Regions from separate parts of the Homo sapiens genome. Here all the other regions are linked to region 3. The links are contacts of gene promoters, found by promoter capture Hi-C in blood cells and fetal thymus (Javierre and others, 2016). All regions are on one chromosome and are shown on one strand. Each heading gives the region's core, a stretch centred on a gene start or on the middle of the fragment in contact. The rest is flanking DNA. Distances are from core to core; before and after follow the strand shown. Region 1 overlaps MACF1 (microtubule actin crosslinking factor 1). Region 2 overlaps MACF1 (microtubule actin crosslinking factor 1). Region 3 holds the start of BMP8A (bone morphogenetic protein 8a).

Region 1 (4,130 bases), core at 1,106-3,605, 210 kb after region 3:
ATATAAAACTGAACAGCAAACCCTATGTGGGAGAGCTCCTCGCCACTGGACGTGTCAAGCAGAAACTAAGATGCTGTGAACGAAATAACTTCCAAATCTGAGAATCATTGATCACAGTCCTTTGGTGCATTGCCCATTGCACTTAGTGTTGTGCTGGTTGTATGGTGGGACCTTAACATGTTTTAATTAATAATAACTTGGTTTATGAATGAAATAATAAAAATAAAATGAAATAATAAAAATAAGCAAATAAAAGTATTTTGGGGGCTGGGCACAGTGGCTCACACCTATAATCCCAACATTTTGGGAGGCCGAGGCAGGTGGATCACCTGAGGTCAGGAGTTCGAGACCACTCCCGCCTAGGTGACAGAGCGGGACTCTGTCTCAAAAAAAAAAAGTATTCTGGCATAAAGCCCACCTAGAATCTGTAGACAGGTTACTTAGCTAATTCAAAGCACTGTGTAAAGTAAACAAGTTTATATTTGTCTCCTCTGGAGTGGGACTATGAATGACTTTAGTTTTTCTTCCTACTCTTCTTTTTTTCAGACTTCGAGTAATGACCACACTTTATTTTTATAATAAAAAGTATAAAAACAATCCTTGTTAACAAGGAAAAATGTTAAGCCTTTCATTCAGACAGATATGTGTTTGAAAGAAGGCATTTACTAGAAATGTGACCTCAGGCAAACCATGTAAGCCTCCTGGCCCAATTTTCCCCATATTTAAAATAGGATAATAACTTTCTCAAAGGATCATTATAAGGATTAAATAAGATGATGTAGATAGTGCCGAGGGTACATGTATTCCCTTCCCATAATAATAAGACAGCATACCCAACACAATTTTTGGTCTGGGTGTTGGGGCAGAGAAAACACCGGCATGTCAATAGAACATCCTGTCTCTTAGTCGTCTCTATCAGGTGCAGTACCATGAAAGTAGTAGCTTCCCTTGTGATCAATACAAGGGAGAAGTCAATAATAAGTCATCTCCAAGTGTCTGAATTTACAAACTCATAATAGATGAGATTAAATATCAGATGATATTTTAAAATTGGAAAAAAAAAAGGGCCAGGAACTTTAACACTATATTTAGAATAAAAGAAAGCTGCAGGCTACTAAATATTACTAAGATGTCTGAAGAAAGACCGTGAGAATAGAAGAGTATGGGAAGCTTGCATTGAGTACAGAAAAGGGAAGCCAGGAAGTACTGCCTCCATGCCTGTGAAGGTGAAACTGTACCCTACCCAGCAGATTCAAGGGACATAGGATCTTATGCCCTTGACAGGTACATTTCTACAGAAGAAATCAGACTATTCTACTTTGATGATGCCAGCTAATAAGCCCATCCTACAAATCATTCCTCTACTCACCACCTCTCTGCTCTGACTGCATGTTCACCTGACAACCTTCAGATTATTATTTGCTTCCCATATAGATATTCTAAAGCAACAAAAGCAGTAAGTGGCCAATTCAAATTCTTGAATCACTTGGCAGTTAAAATTTATTTTGTAAATTAATAAATTCACATAGACCAATCTCAAGCAAATGTGATCAGTGTGAGTCAGTTTACTAAAACTATTAATCAACTCCAGATCTACCTGGGGCTGGGGGAGGGGCGGTAGTGGGGAGAGAAGCTATGGAGCTGCAGAGCCAAGGACACAATAATGGATCACGGCTCTTCCTATAAACAGCTTCTTCCTAGTACCAATTCTATTTCAGTTCCCCTTAACATTTCTAGCTACCTATTTCACTGGCTAAATGCAACATTGATATATCCCACTGCCTTCACTGTAGCTGCTTCACGTACATATTAAAGTAAAACATTATTGGGAACAGGAAATAGATTTGTTGATGTAAAACAAGACAGAACTTGAATAAGCAAAACAAAATCTGAGTATTTGGGTTCTTCACCCAAAAATGAAATTCCAGTTAGTTAATTGATATTGTATGTTCATTACAGCCATAATCTTTCTAATAACATCTCTCATTTCTTAGTATTTCTGTATATTGCACTAAAACTACTTCAATGAACAGCTTTACTTCAGATTTTAAACATAGTTGTAATGAGATAGATGTTTGGATCCCTAAGGGAAAGAAAAATAAAATACCTGTTTGGATTAGGGCCATTACCTAGACTGGAAACTGGATGAGAAAAATGGGATTATCATCACAACCATCTCAGTAATTAAATTTGGCTTTCATCAATCTCTTTCTGTATACTCACACATGATATGTGTGCACAGTACTGTGCTCTGGGCTATGCAGAAGCTTTTACCTTAATCTCCCAAATGCAGAAATCCAGCTTTAGTTTCAGAGATCTTTCTCCCTCATCTGGGCTTTTTAAGGAGGAAGCCATTTGGAGAGGGAGAACAGCCTCAACAGTATGCCTGAGAATATGCAAATTCCACTTGAATTTCCTTTCATCTCACACTTCCCAAAGCTTGGTTAATTGCTTCTCTGAAGTATTCCCAGAAGCTGAATGTTTTCCTAATAATTCAATAAGTATTGACTGAACAACATCTTAGCACTATGACTGGCACCATGGAGAAGAACAAGAAAAGACACACCACTTACTTATACTGTTAATATTTTTTGAGCAACCATTATATTCTAGGAGCTGTGCTTAAATTCTTGATATCTCAAAATAAAAAAACACAGCCTCAGGCCTCAAGTTCAAGCAATTTAATCAGGGAGACAATTTACTATACAAAGAGATCAATGTTGTGACAGAGGTAAGCAAGTAATCCAAACTAGCAATGCCAGAGGATTGCTCAGCAACAACAACATCTGTGCTGAGTTTTAATAAGTAGAAGTTGGCCAGGTAAAAAGGTGGAAAACAAAAAAAGAAGACATGCTTGGCCTGCAAGAACTTAGTTGAGACATGCCATAACTAACATATGATTATCCCAAATATTTTCCCAGATAACAACAGATGTATGAAGGTAAAACAGGAATACAGGAAGGGAAGCTCTGTAGTCCTCCTGAATACCCAAACTTTTAGAAATTTATTTACACATATACACATATTTAAAATTAAGCAGTATATTTAAGCATTTAGTATTAATGTATTTTCTGCCTTTGTAATTTCAAAAAACTGTATTATTCAAACTTCACATGCATCTTTAACATCAATGTTTTTTCCTTCAATAAAGCTATCTTTTTAGTGAATTTTCTAGAAAATACTGTCTACTTTTCTAAGATTTTAAAGTTAATAACAGCACTTTTCTGAATCTACATTGTCTCTGGGTATTTCATTTCAAACCACAAGAGTCCAGTTACATAACACTGGATTAGGGTTTTTTTTTTTTTTCATTCATTCTGCTGTGTTTATTTGTGATCCCCATAATGTATGTGTATGTTTCATATGCAATGTGAGTGATTCAAAAAAAAATTTTAATGTTAAGGCTTGTATACAATTACTTTCAACACTTCAAATTAGGAGATTATATTCCCAGGAACAATAACTAAAACTTTCTTAGATTTTTCATTCCTCTTTTTTGTTTAATCAATTATGTCAGTTGATCTCTACAAAAAAATGATAGTGATTGAACTAGCAGATGGTGACATAGATTTATTCACCCTTTTTCATGAACTGACTATAAGCTCCCTGGAAGCCTAATAACAAGAAATGCTTTATAAGAAGTAAAATATAAAGAGAATATCTCTTTTCTGAAGGTTAATTTCTGGACGAAAAAAATCTCATATCTATGGTAGGTCACATGAAATAGTTAAACAAATTTATAGCCAAAAACGACCAATAATTATAGTAATATCCAATACAGAATCTCAGCAGAATGGAAAATTACTGTGGGCTGGAGGATTTCTAGAAGTACCATATAAACTCATCCTTGAAGGGTGTTACAGAACAGGTGAAAGCCAAGGAAGAAAGGAATTCCACGTAGAAAGTGGATGTAAACAAACTGAGATAAGGTGAAACAGAAATAGTAGTTAAGGGACTGATCTGTTAAAATGAGAAGGTTTAAATTGGGAACCGATAGAAAAGATAAGATAGATTACAAAGGAACTGGTAATCTATCTTATCTTTATCCCAGCTGAGGAGTTTCGACTTGGTATCTTATCTTATCCCAGCTGAGGAGTTTGGACTTGGTAAGTCTCTCAGTGGATGAGACG
Region 2 (3,823 bases), core at 176-2,675, 160 kb after region 3:
AAGCATCAATGTTTGGATTTCTCTCTTTTTGTTCTACAAACAGATCCTGTTCAGGGTTCTCTACAGAAGAATCTTCTGTTTCTACAGTGGTCTTTTTGCCTTTTTCTGTAGTGCAATCTTCCCGATCGGGATATTCTTTGTTCTGAGAAGAAAACTGGAACTCAGGCAGCCTCACAGTCCACCCACTGCTGAAAGTTCCTGAGATTTTCACATTAGCTGATTCTTGCAATCCCTCAGGAGTTTTTTGCCTTTGATGCCCAATTTCAACCACTTTTGGAGGACTTGTTTGATACTCATCTCTGGATGTTAGTGTCTCCATCAGCTCTTTATCTAACAGAAGCAGCCTCTGTCCATTTTGCACATTAATATAGCTGTGAGTCATCAGCTGGAACAACAGATTCTCACTCTGGCTTGCTGTGGCCTTAGGGTGGCTCTTGCTGCACGGTAGAACTGCTGCTCCAGGATTAATATTTTGTTCTGCAGAGTCTGCTAGTTGCATGTGGGGCATCACATCAGGTATACAAATCGATTTTAAGTTATTGGCAAGATCTCTATCCAGGATACCACTTTCTATTGCTTTCTTCCAGGACAAAATCTCTGTGGTTGCTGGTAGAAACAGAGCCTTAATATGCTGTCGGTTACTAAGGATTTTATGTGCTAGTTCAGTAGACACAATACCTTGTTCTAGGGCATCTGTAATTGGGAGGATCTCTCCAGATTCAGGCCACAGCAACCCCATGAATGACCAGAGGGACTCCAGAATCACAAGGGCGATCTTAGCAGCTACTAGATCATTGCTCACTGCTTCATCTATTGTTAGCCTTTGCCCCGTGACAGTGTCTATGATGCCTCCTGTCTGAAGCTGCCTTATGAGGATAGCACAGGCCATATCTTGGTCAATCAGATTATGTCTTACAGCCTCTTCCACTGTAAGTCTGTGTCCTGTTCTTGGATCTACTATGCCACCAGCAAAAAGCTGAGCTTCCAGCAACCGGACAGTGACCTGCCTATCTATTAGCCCTTCCTGAACTGCACGGAAAATGCTAACCTTCCGGCCTGATTTCAAGCTCACCATCCCCCCTGCCAATTGTTTGACAGGCAGTAATTTGAATCCTGATTCCTGGTGGACAATACATCGCTGCATCAGATCCAGCAAACCAATTTTCTCAGCTGTGTTAGGGTCTATCAAATTCTTGGATGTTCTAAGATAAGACTCTAATACTGAATGAAGCCATGCAGAAATGAGGCCTTGATGAAAAGCCTCTTCCAGGTTAATACAGTTCTCACTAGGGGAAAGACTGAAACCTCCAGTTGCCAGGTGAGCTTCTAAGATTTTCAGTCCAACTGTCTCACTGATTATTCTCTTTTCAATTGCTTCCACCACAGAAAGAGGGCCTCTGCTCTCAGTAAGCCTGCTTATTAAGGCCAGGGCATCCTGTAGCTCCCGGAGCTGCTGGTACATCTGGGGATTAATGAGGTTTCTGGCTATGCCCTCCTCCAAAGAGAGGTTTTCACCCGTCTCAGGGGCAATGAGGCCAGACATGATAACCTGAGATTCCAGAAGCACTAGGCCTGTGTCTTGGTCAAGGAGGCCCTTTTGCATGGCTTTGAAGATGGGAAATATCTCCACTGTGCCTAGGTCAATCACCCCAGCAACTGCTCTGCATTCCTAAAAAAAAAAAAAAAAAAAAAAAAAAAAGGAAAAGAGAAGAAAAAGAAAACTGAATCAGAGCCAATGGCAAAGCACAACTATTGAAAGGAGTCATTCAAAGAACTATAGTATACAGGCCAGGCACAGTGGCTCACGCCTATAATCTGCCCAAGGCAGGCAAATCATGAGGTCAGGAGTCTGAGACCAGCCTGACCAACATGGTGAAAAACCCGTCTCTACTAAAAATACAAAATATTAGCTGGGTGTGGTGCGCACCTGTAATCCCAGCTACTCAGGAGGCTGAAGCAGGAGAATGGCTTGAACCCGGGAGGTGGAGGTTGTAGTGAGCTGAGATTGCATCACTGCACTCCAGCCTGGGCAACAGAGCGAGACTCTGTCTCAAAAAAAAAAAAAAAAAGTACTACAGTATATAAAATTCTGACCACAAGGAAAACCCAGCATGGGATAAGCCCCAACATGTAGGAAATATTCTGAAGCAAGCCACCCGGTGTTAAGACTAAAAAAGAGTTTTTCTAAACTGCAGAATGTTTAATAGGTCAGAAGTTCCTAGATTACTTGAGAGATAGTGGCATTAAGCATATCTGAGTGACAAGCTCTACAGGGTGGTAAGCAGTGAAAATGATAGGATTTAATCTTATTTCTAAGACTAAATCATCATAAATGTTCTTAAAGACACGTAACAGTTCCCCCAAAGTGAGAATTCAACGCCATACAACAAGTTTTTGGTGTTGCAAACCACACAGAAGACTCTAGAAGTAGCAATTCCCTGCTGATGAGCACAGCAGGACTGGTCCATAGAATAAGAGAGATTTATGCAGCCCAGAAGCTCCAGAACAATTGTGCATCCCAGTAAACAGGCCTGTGTATACTACTCAAGCAACTATTTAGCAAGTGGGATACTCATATTCTTGGACAATGCTAGCTTCTCCCAAGGCAATGGCTCTAAATTAAGTTAGTTCTAGGTCTTGGAAGTAGCAAGTCAAGGAAGAAACAGATTGGGGACCCTTGCCTATGGAACCACTAGTAACTTTTCTTCTGATCCAGGCTAGAATGGGTAGTACAATAACCATGACTACAGCTATCACTTATTACTAGATCTACTGAACACTGACATTTAATTCTCACAGTAATCCTATGAAAACAATTGTTTGAATCTTTAGTTTGAAGAAATGAAAATGAGGCACAGAGTTTAGGTAACTTGTCCAAGGTCACAAAACTAGTGAGTTCCAGAAACAAATCAAGGTCTGATTCTAAATCTTGTTTGTCCTCCCAGAGTCAGACCCAGAAAACTGTAAAAGACAAGTACAGTAGAGTCACATCTTAACACAGGAGTTAGGTCCGAAGGTCAGTGAATAAGGCATATACGCTGTCAAAATTACCCTTGCAAATCCTAGAAACAGCTCCTAAAGAATTCTCATTTTTGAGATCTTTTATCACAGAATAATACATTCAGATTTTAAATTATTTAAGTGTTTAACCACTTACAACACTTCATCATTTTTATTACTCTCCAACTTTTCAGCTCTTCTTTTCATGTTCATTATTTTCATTTTCTGTATATAATTTTATCTGTCCCTCTTTGGTCAGTGCTACTTTCTGATTACTTATTTAACTCTCTATCTTATTGATAGAGGATCTTGTGGAAGCAATTTCCAATTATTTCCCTGCCTCCTAAATAATGGCATTTCATTTTATCTCAGTGAGTAAGTTCTGTAAGAGCTGATCCATTGTCCATGAAGGTCTAGGAACAGTAGCTGTCATTTAATAAATATGGGATGAATATGGATAAATAATAAGGAAACCCTTAAAATCATTAAGCCATTTCCCCTCAGGTGTTAGAAACACGCACTGAGGATTTCAAGCTTGATGAGGTGCATACAATAAGAATACAGAATGGATAGCAAATGAAAGAACAGTATATTTGGTTCTCATCTCCATTTCTACATATGTGTTCAATCAATGGAATAACTGACAGACTTCTCTACACTATTTAAAGTATTATTTATTCCCTATCCCCATGTTTTCTGACCAAGAATAGAAAGTCCAATTCATATAATTTAAACATATATATTATACAAACTCACTATGTGTCTGTTTTAAAGAAATTGAAGGAAAAAGTTCACTGGAATGTGATAACTGAAAAATTTCAAG
Region 3 (3,922 bases), core at 454-2,953:
ATCTGGGAGATGGGGATGAAGACCGTGGCTGTTATCAGGGTTGTCGGGAGGATGAAGAATTAATGATGCTGTCTGTGGAGGGAGGCTGGTGGCTGGGGCAGGTACCCACTCCCTGCTCTCAGCCCCACAGCTCCCCCACTTCGGGCTGAGCTGTGGTCCTTGGCTCCCAGACCCCGGCCTGTCACTAGCCACAGACAGGAGGCAAAGCAGACGGGGGACCTGACCAACAGTAACTACACGAGCATAGACCAAAGAGTTTAGTACTGGAAAAGAAAAATCTGAGATCTTAAGGAATAAATAGCTCCAGGGTTTGATACAAGATGTTTGCAGACAGGAAAAGCCCGGCTTTGCCTGGGAGAACACAGTGGGTCCAGCTGCCCACTGGGCCATTCCACAGGACCGGACACTCACCCTATACCAGGCCACATGCTAAGTGCAGGGCCCAGGGTGACAAGGCCACAGTCCCTGCCCCAGCGAGCTGAGTCTGCTCCTTCCCCAGCCGCTCCCCTGACAGCCGCACCCCACCCAGGCTCCGCACAGGGAAGAGCCTGCTGTGGACTCAGGGCACGCGACTCAGCTCTGGTCACTCCGATGATGTGACCACAGGTTTCCACGCTGAACTTTGTCCCTCTCCTCAGTACTGTCCTTATCACAGTGACAGCATCCCGGCCTCTGTTTACTCACCTGTCTCCCCAGGACCAGGCTGTCTTCCCGGGGCAGCCCAGGTGGGCAAAGACATCACCTAATTCTTACTCCTGGGTGTGTCTGGGGCAGGGTGAAGGCAGCGCCTGGGAGTCCACAGTCCCCCACACTCTGCTCCTGACCACCCCGCAGCCCAGGGGGCCCCCATGACCCTTAGACCTTCCCTAACCACGGCGGTCCCACTCCCCTGTGGTTCGCGTCCACCGTCTGTGATTCCCCGTTCGGCCAGGGCCCGGCACCGCCCGCGGATGCGCGCCCCTCCCCTGCAGCCAGCTTACTCCGAGGGTCCCCGCGCGGGCGGCCGCACTCACCCATGTTGACGAAGCTCATGACCAGGTCGGCGCGGCCCAGGCGCTGCTCCGCGGGCGCGCCGTCCTCGTCGTCGTCGCCAGCCATGGCGTGGTACAGGTCCAGCATGAAGAGCGGCGCGGACGCGGGCAGCCGGGAGGCGGCGGGTGGCGCGCGGGGCCGGGGCCGCCCGGGTAGCCCGAGCACCGCCAGGATCTCGCGCTGCACGTCCCGGCGCTCGCGCGCGCCCAGACGTCGCTGGGGACAGCCGGGCGGGGGTCGCAGGCCGGGGCCGCCCCCGCCCAGCGCGCACAACGTCAGGCCCAGAAGCCAGAGCGGTCCGGGGCGCGCGGCCATGGCGGGCCGGGGGCGCTCAGCGGGCGCACATCAGCTCCGCCGCCGCCCCTGGGCCCGGGGACGCCCCGACGGCGAACGGGGAGCTGAGTTCGGCGAGCAGGGGGCGGGGCTCGGCGGGCGGCGTCTGCGGCCTCAGCGCGGTCCCTGGAGCGCCCCCCGCGCGCACCTGCCCCGGCTCCGGGACAAGCGGACGCTGACGCGGACGCAGACGCCAACGCTTCGAGGCCGGGGCTGTTCTGAGGGCTGGGACTGTCAGCCAATCCGTCTGTCGCCGCCGTTCCCACCAGTCCGGCTGTGGCTGCGGTCCGCGCAGCGCAGGGGCGACCGGCGAGCTCCGGCAGCGACCCGGGCGGCGCGATTCCCGCGAGTCCTTGCCCCGGCTCAGCCGTCTGTGCCGCCCGCCCACCCCCGGGACTGACCAATGGGGGCGCGGGGGCGGGGCCTGGGCGCGGAGGCCGCGCCCGCTAGGAGCCCCGGGCGGCGGCAGGTGTTGCGGGTGGGGCGACCCCGAGGTGCGACCTCGGCGTGGCTGGCGGTTGGTCCGGGCGAGGAGCCCGCAGCCTGGGCGTCAGCGTGGTCAGGGCCGTCGTGGCTCCCGCCGCGGGCCTCGGCGCAGAGATCCTAAGGCCGCGGCGCCGTCCCGGTCCCGCCAGTGGTGCCACCCGGCTGCCTCGCCGTGGTGTGCCGTGGTCGCCACCGGGCCCGACACGCGGCCGTAGCCCCGTCTGGAGAGCCGGGCGGTGCCAGCCAAGCCCCGCGGGTGGGGCCTGTTCCTCTGCCCGCAGCAGCCGGCCCGGGTTCCGGCCACCGCGGCCCCTCACCGCCTCCTGGCGCCTTCCCCGTGGCCCCTGCATGCGCTTCTGCGGGCGCCTCCTTCTCGGCACCTGCTCGGCTGCTTCTCCCTGCGTCCCCCACCTGGCTCCCGCGTGAGCCCAGGCAGCGCCCCAGTCGGGCCGCCCCCGCCAGCCCTAGCTGTGCGCCCTGCGTCCCCGGTACTGATCCAGCTTTGCGGAGGAGGCTCCGCCTCCTGCCTCCAGCTGGGCCAGAAGCTCTGGGGCCCTTCCCGAGCACTCGGGAGCCACCTGTGCACATCTTCTCAGTCCCCACGGCCCCGGTGCAGGCCTGCCAAGAGAAGGATCCCCGCGGAAACGTCTCGACTGACTCAGTCCCTTTCTGCACACCTGCTCTTCCCTGGGCGCGCTCTCGCCTTACTTATTCCTGTGTGGTTCAGGCGCTGCGGAAGGAGAAGGCACCTAGACTGCACTGGGAAGGCTCCTGGAGTTGACCTGGAGCGCCAGGAAAGGTCAGTGGAGGAAAGTGCTCCAGGCAGAGGGAATAGCTTGTGCCAAGGCCCTGAGACCCCGGCTGGGGAGCCTAATAATGGCAACAGTCAGCACTTGCCACGCCAAGGCATGTTCTGAGTGTGTGTCTCGTGTCATTTCTGTGATGCTCGCACATCGTTAGGGGGTACATACCACTGGAACCTCCTCTTTTAATAAATGAGGAAACTGAGGCACACGGCGGTTAAGGGACTTACGCCAGGTCACACAGCAGTGGAGCTGCGCTCGGGCAGGGGGGCAGTGGAAACTGGAGAGCCCAGGGGGCAAACGGCGGAGGCTGGAGGGGCTGGCAAGGGAGGCACCGCAAAGGGCCTCACAGGGGCTAGACGAGGGCCCTGGGCACCAGAGATTATGGTGCCCCGCCATGTGGATTGAAGATTAAACCTCGAAGCAAGTGTATAATGCCCCCAAAAATCACATTTGGAAGTCATCACTTCAATAAAATTTTCTACAACAAATTCTTAATCTAAATAGTCATTTGCTGGTGCCTTAAACACACGCCTAGTTTGTCTTTTACCCAACAGGTATATTTCCACACTGCTCGTAAATTTTCTGCGCGGTCCCCAGAGCGCCCCCCATGAGGCACCTGCATCAGCTCCGGGCAGAGCAGATGTGGATGCCACCGCCTAGAAGCCGGGGCTACCCTGCGGACTGGGACTGTCCCATAAGGATACTGAGCTAAGGATAATGCAGAATAACCGTTGAAAGTACCCAAGACCAGAGCTTGGAAGCAGAGCGGAATATGGATCAGAGGGAGACAGGAGTCAGGGCCCTGCAGTTGGAGGCAGGTACAGCAATCAGATGTGGGGGTGGGTACAATGACCATGAGTCTCTAATGGTGATGGGGTGGAGGGGCAGAGGAGAAAGCTGTTTAGGAGGCTGAATCCACAGGGCTTTGTCCCCATGTCATCTTGGTCAGAGTCTCGGAATCTCCTGCCCACACCCCCTTCACTGTCCTCTCTGCACGCCCCTTTTGAATCCACTGCACATCACTTGAGGCCCTAGATCCAGCCTGTACAATTCTCAGGTTTGTTTTGTGCAATTCTGGGCTCCCAGCTAGACTGCAAGCTGCCCAGTGCTGGGCTGATTCTTATAACAGAAATCATTTCTCAATTTAGGATGTGGAGATAGAGCTGTGTTTTCTAAACAACGGGCTTCACATTCCCATAAACCTAAACAGCAGATTTTAGCCATTCCAAGGGCCTCTGCCCACGCTTCAGTTCAGCAACAACCAC

The links. Contacts are between HindIII fragments. The CHiCAGO score rates a contact against its expected background, and 5 or more counts as called.
Region 1: a contact is called between a fragment that was not itself captured here and the fragment with the promoter of BMP8A in region 3, in 1 of 17 cell types (total CD4 T cells). The highest score is 5.2, in total CD4 T cells.
Region 2: a contact is called between a fragment that was not itself captured here and the fragment with the promoter of BMP8A in region 3, in 1 of 17 cell types (M2 macrophages). The highest score is 5.4, in M2 macrophages.

What each region holds. Positions count from the first base shown.
Region 1 is chr1:39,276,333-39,280,462 of GRCh38, reverse strand. All of the region lies in intron 6 of MACF1 (microtubule actin crosslinking factor 1), which reads right to left. Among named protein-coding and RNA genes, the nearest start is that of MACF1, 74 kb to the right of the region's middle. The HindIII fragment of the contact is 172 bases long and covers 2,270-2,441 here.
Region 2 is chr1:39,329,049-39,332,871 of GRCh38, reverse strand. It overlaps MACF1 (microtubule actin crosslinking factor 1), which reads right to left. Exons shown (of 101, transcript NM_001394062.1): 37 at 1-1,669. Among named protein-coding and RNA genes, the nearest start is that of MACF1, 130 kb to the right of the region's middle. The HindIII fragment of the contact is 4,223 bases long and covers 1-3,536 here.
Region 3 is chr1:39,489,417-39,493,338 of GRCh38, reverse strand. BMP8A (bone morphogenetic protein 8a) reads right to left here and starts at 1,703. Exons shown (of 7, transcript NM_181809.4): 1 at 1,014-1,703. The coding sequence starts at 1,347. It overlaps LOC124904101 (a long non-coding RNA gene), which reads left to right and starts at 1,791. Exons shown (of 2, transcript XR_007065978.1): 1 at 1,791-2,650; 2 at 3,212-3,922. RefSeq lists silencers at 1,375-1,474, 1,575-2,204. The HindIII fragment of the contact is 20,371 bases long and covers 1-3,922 here.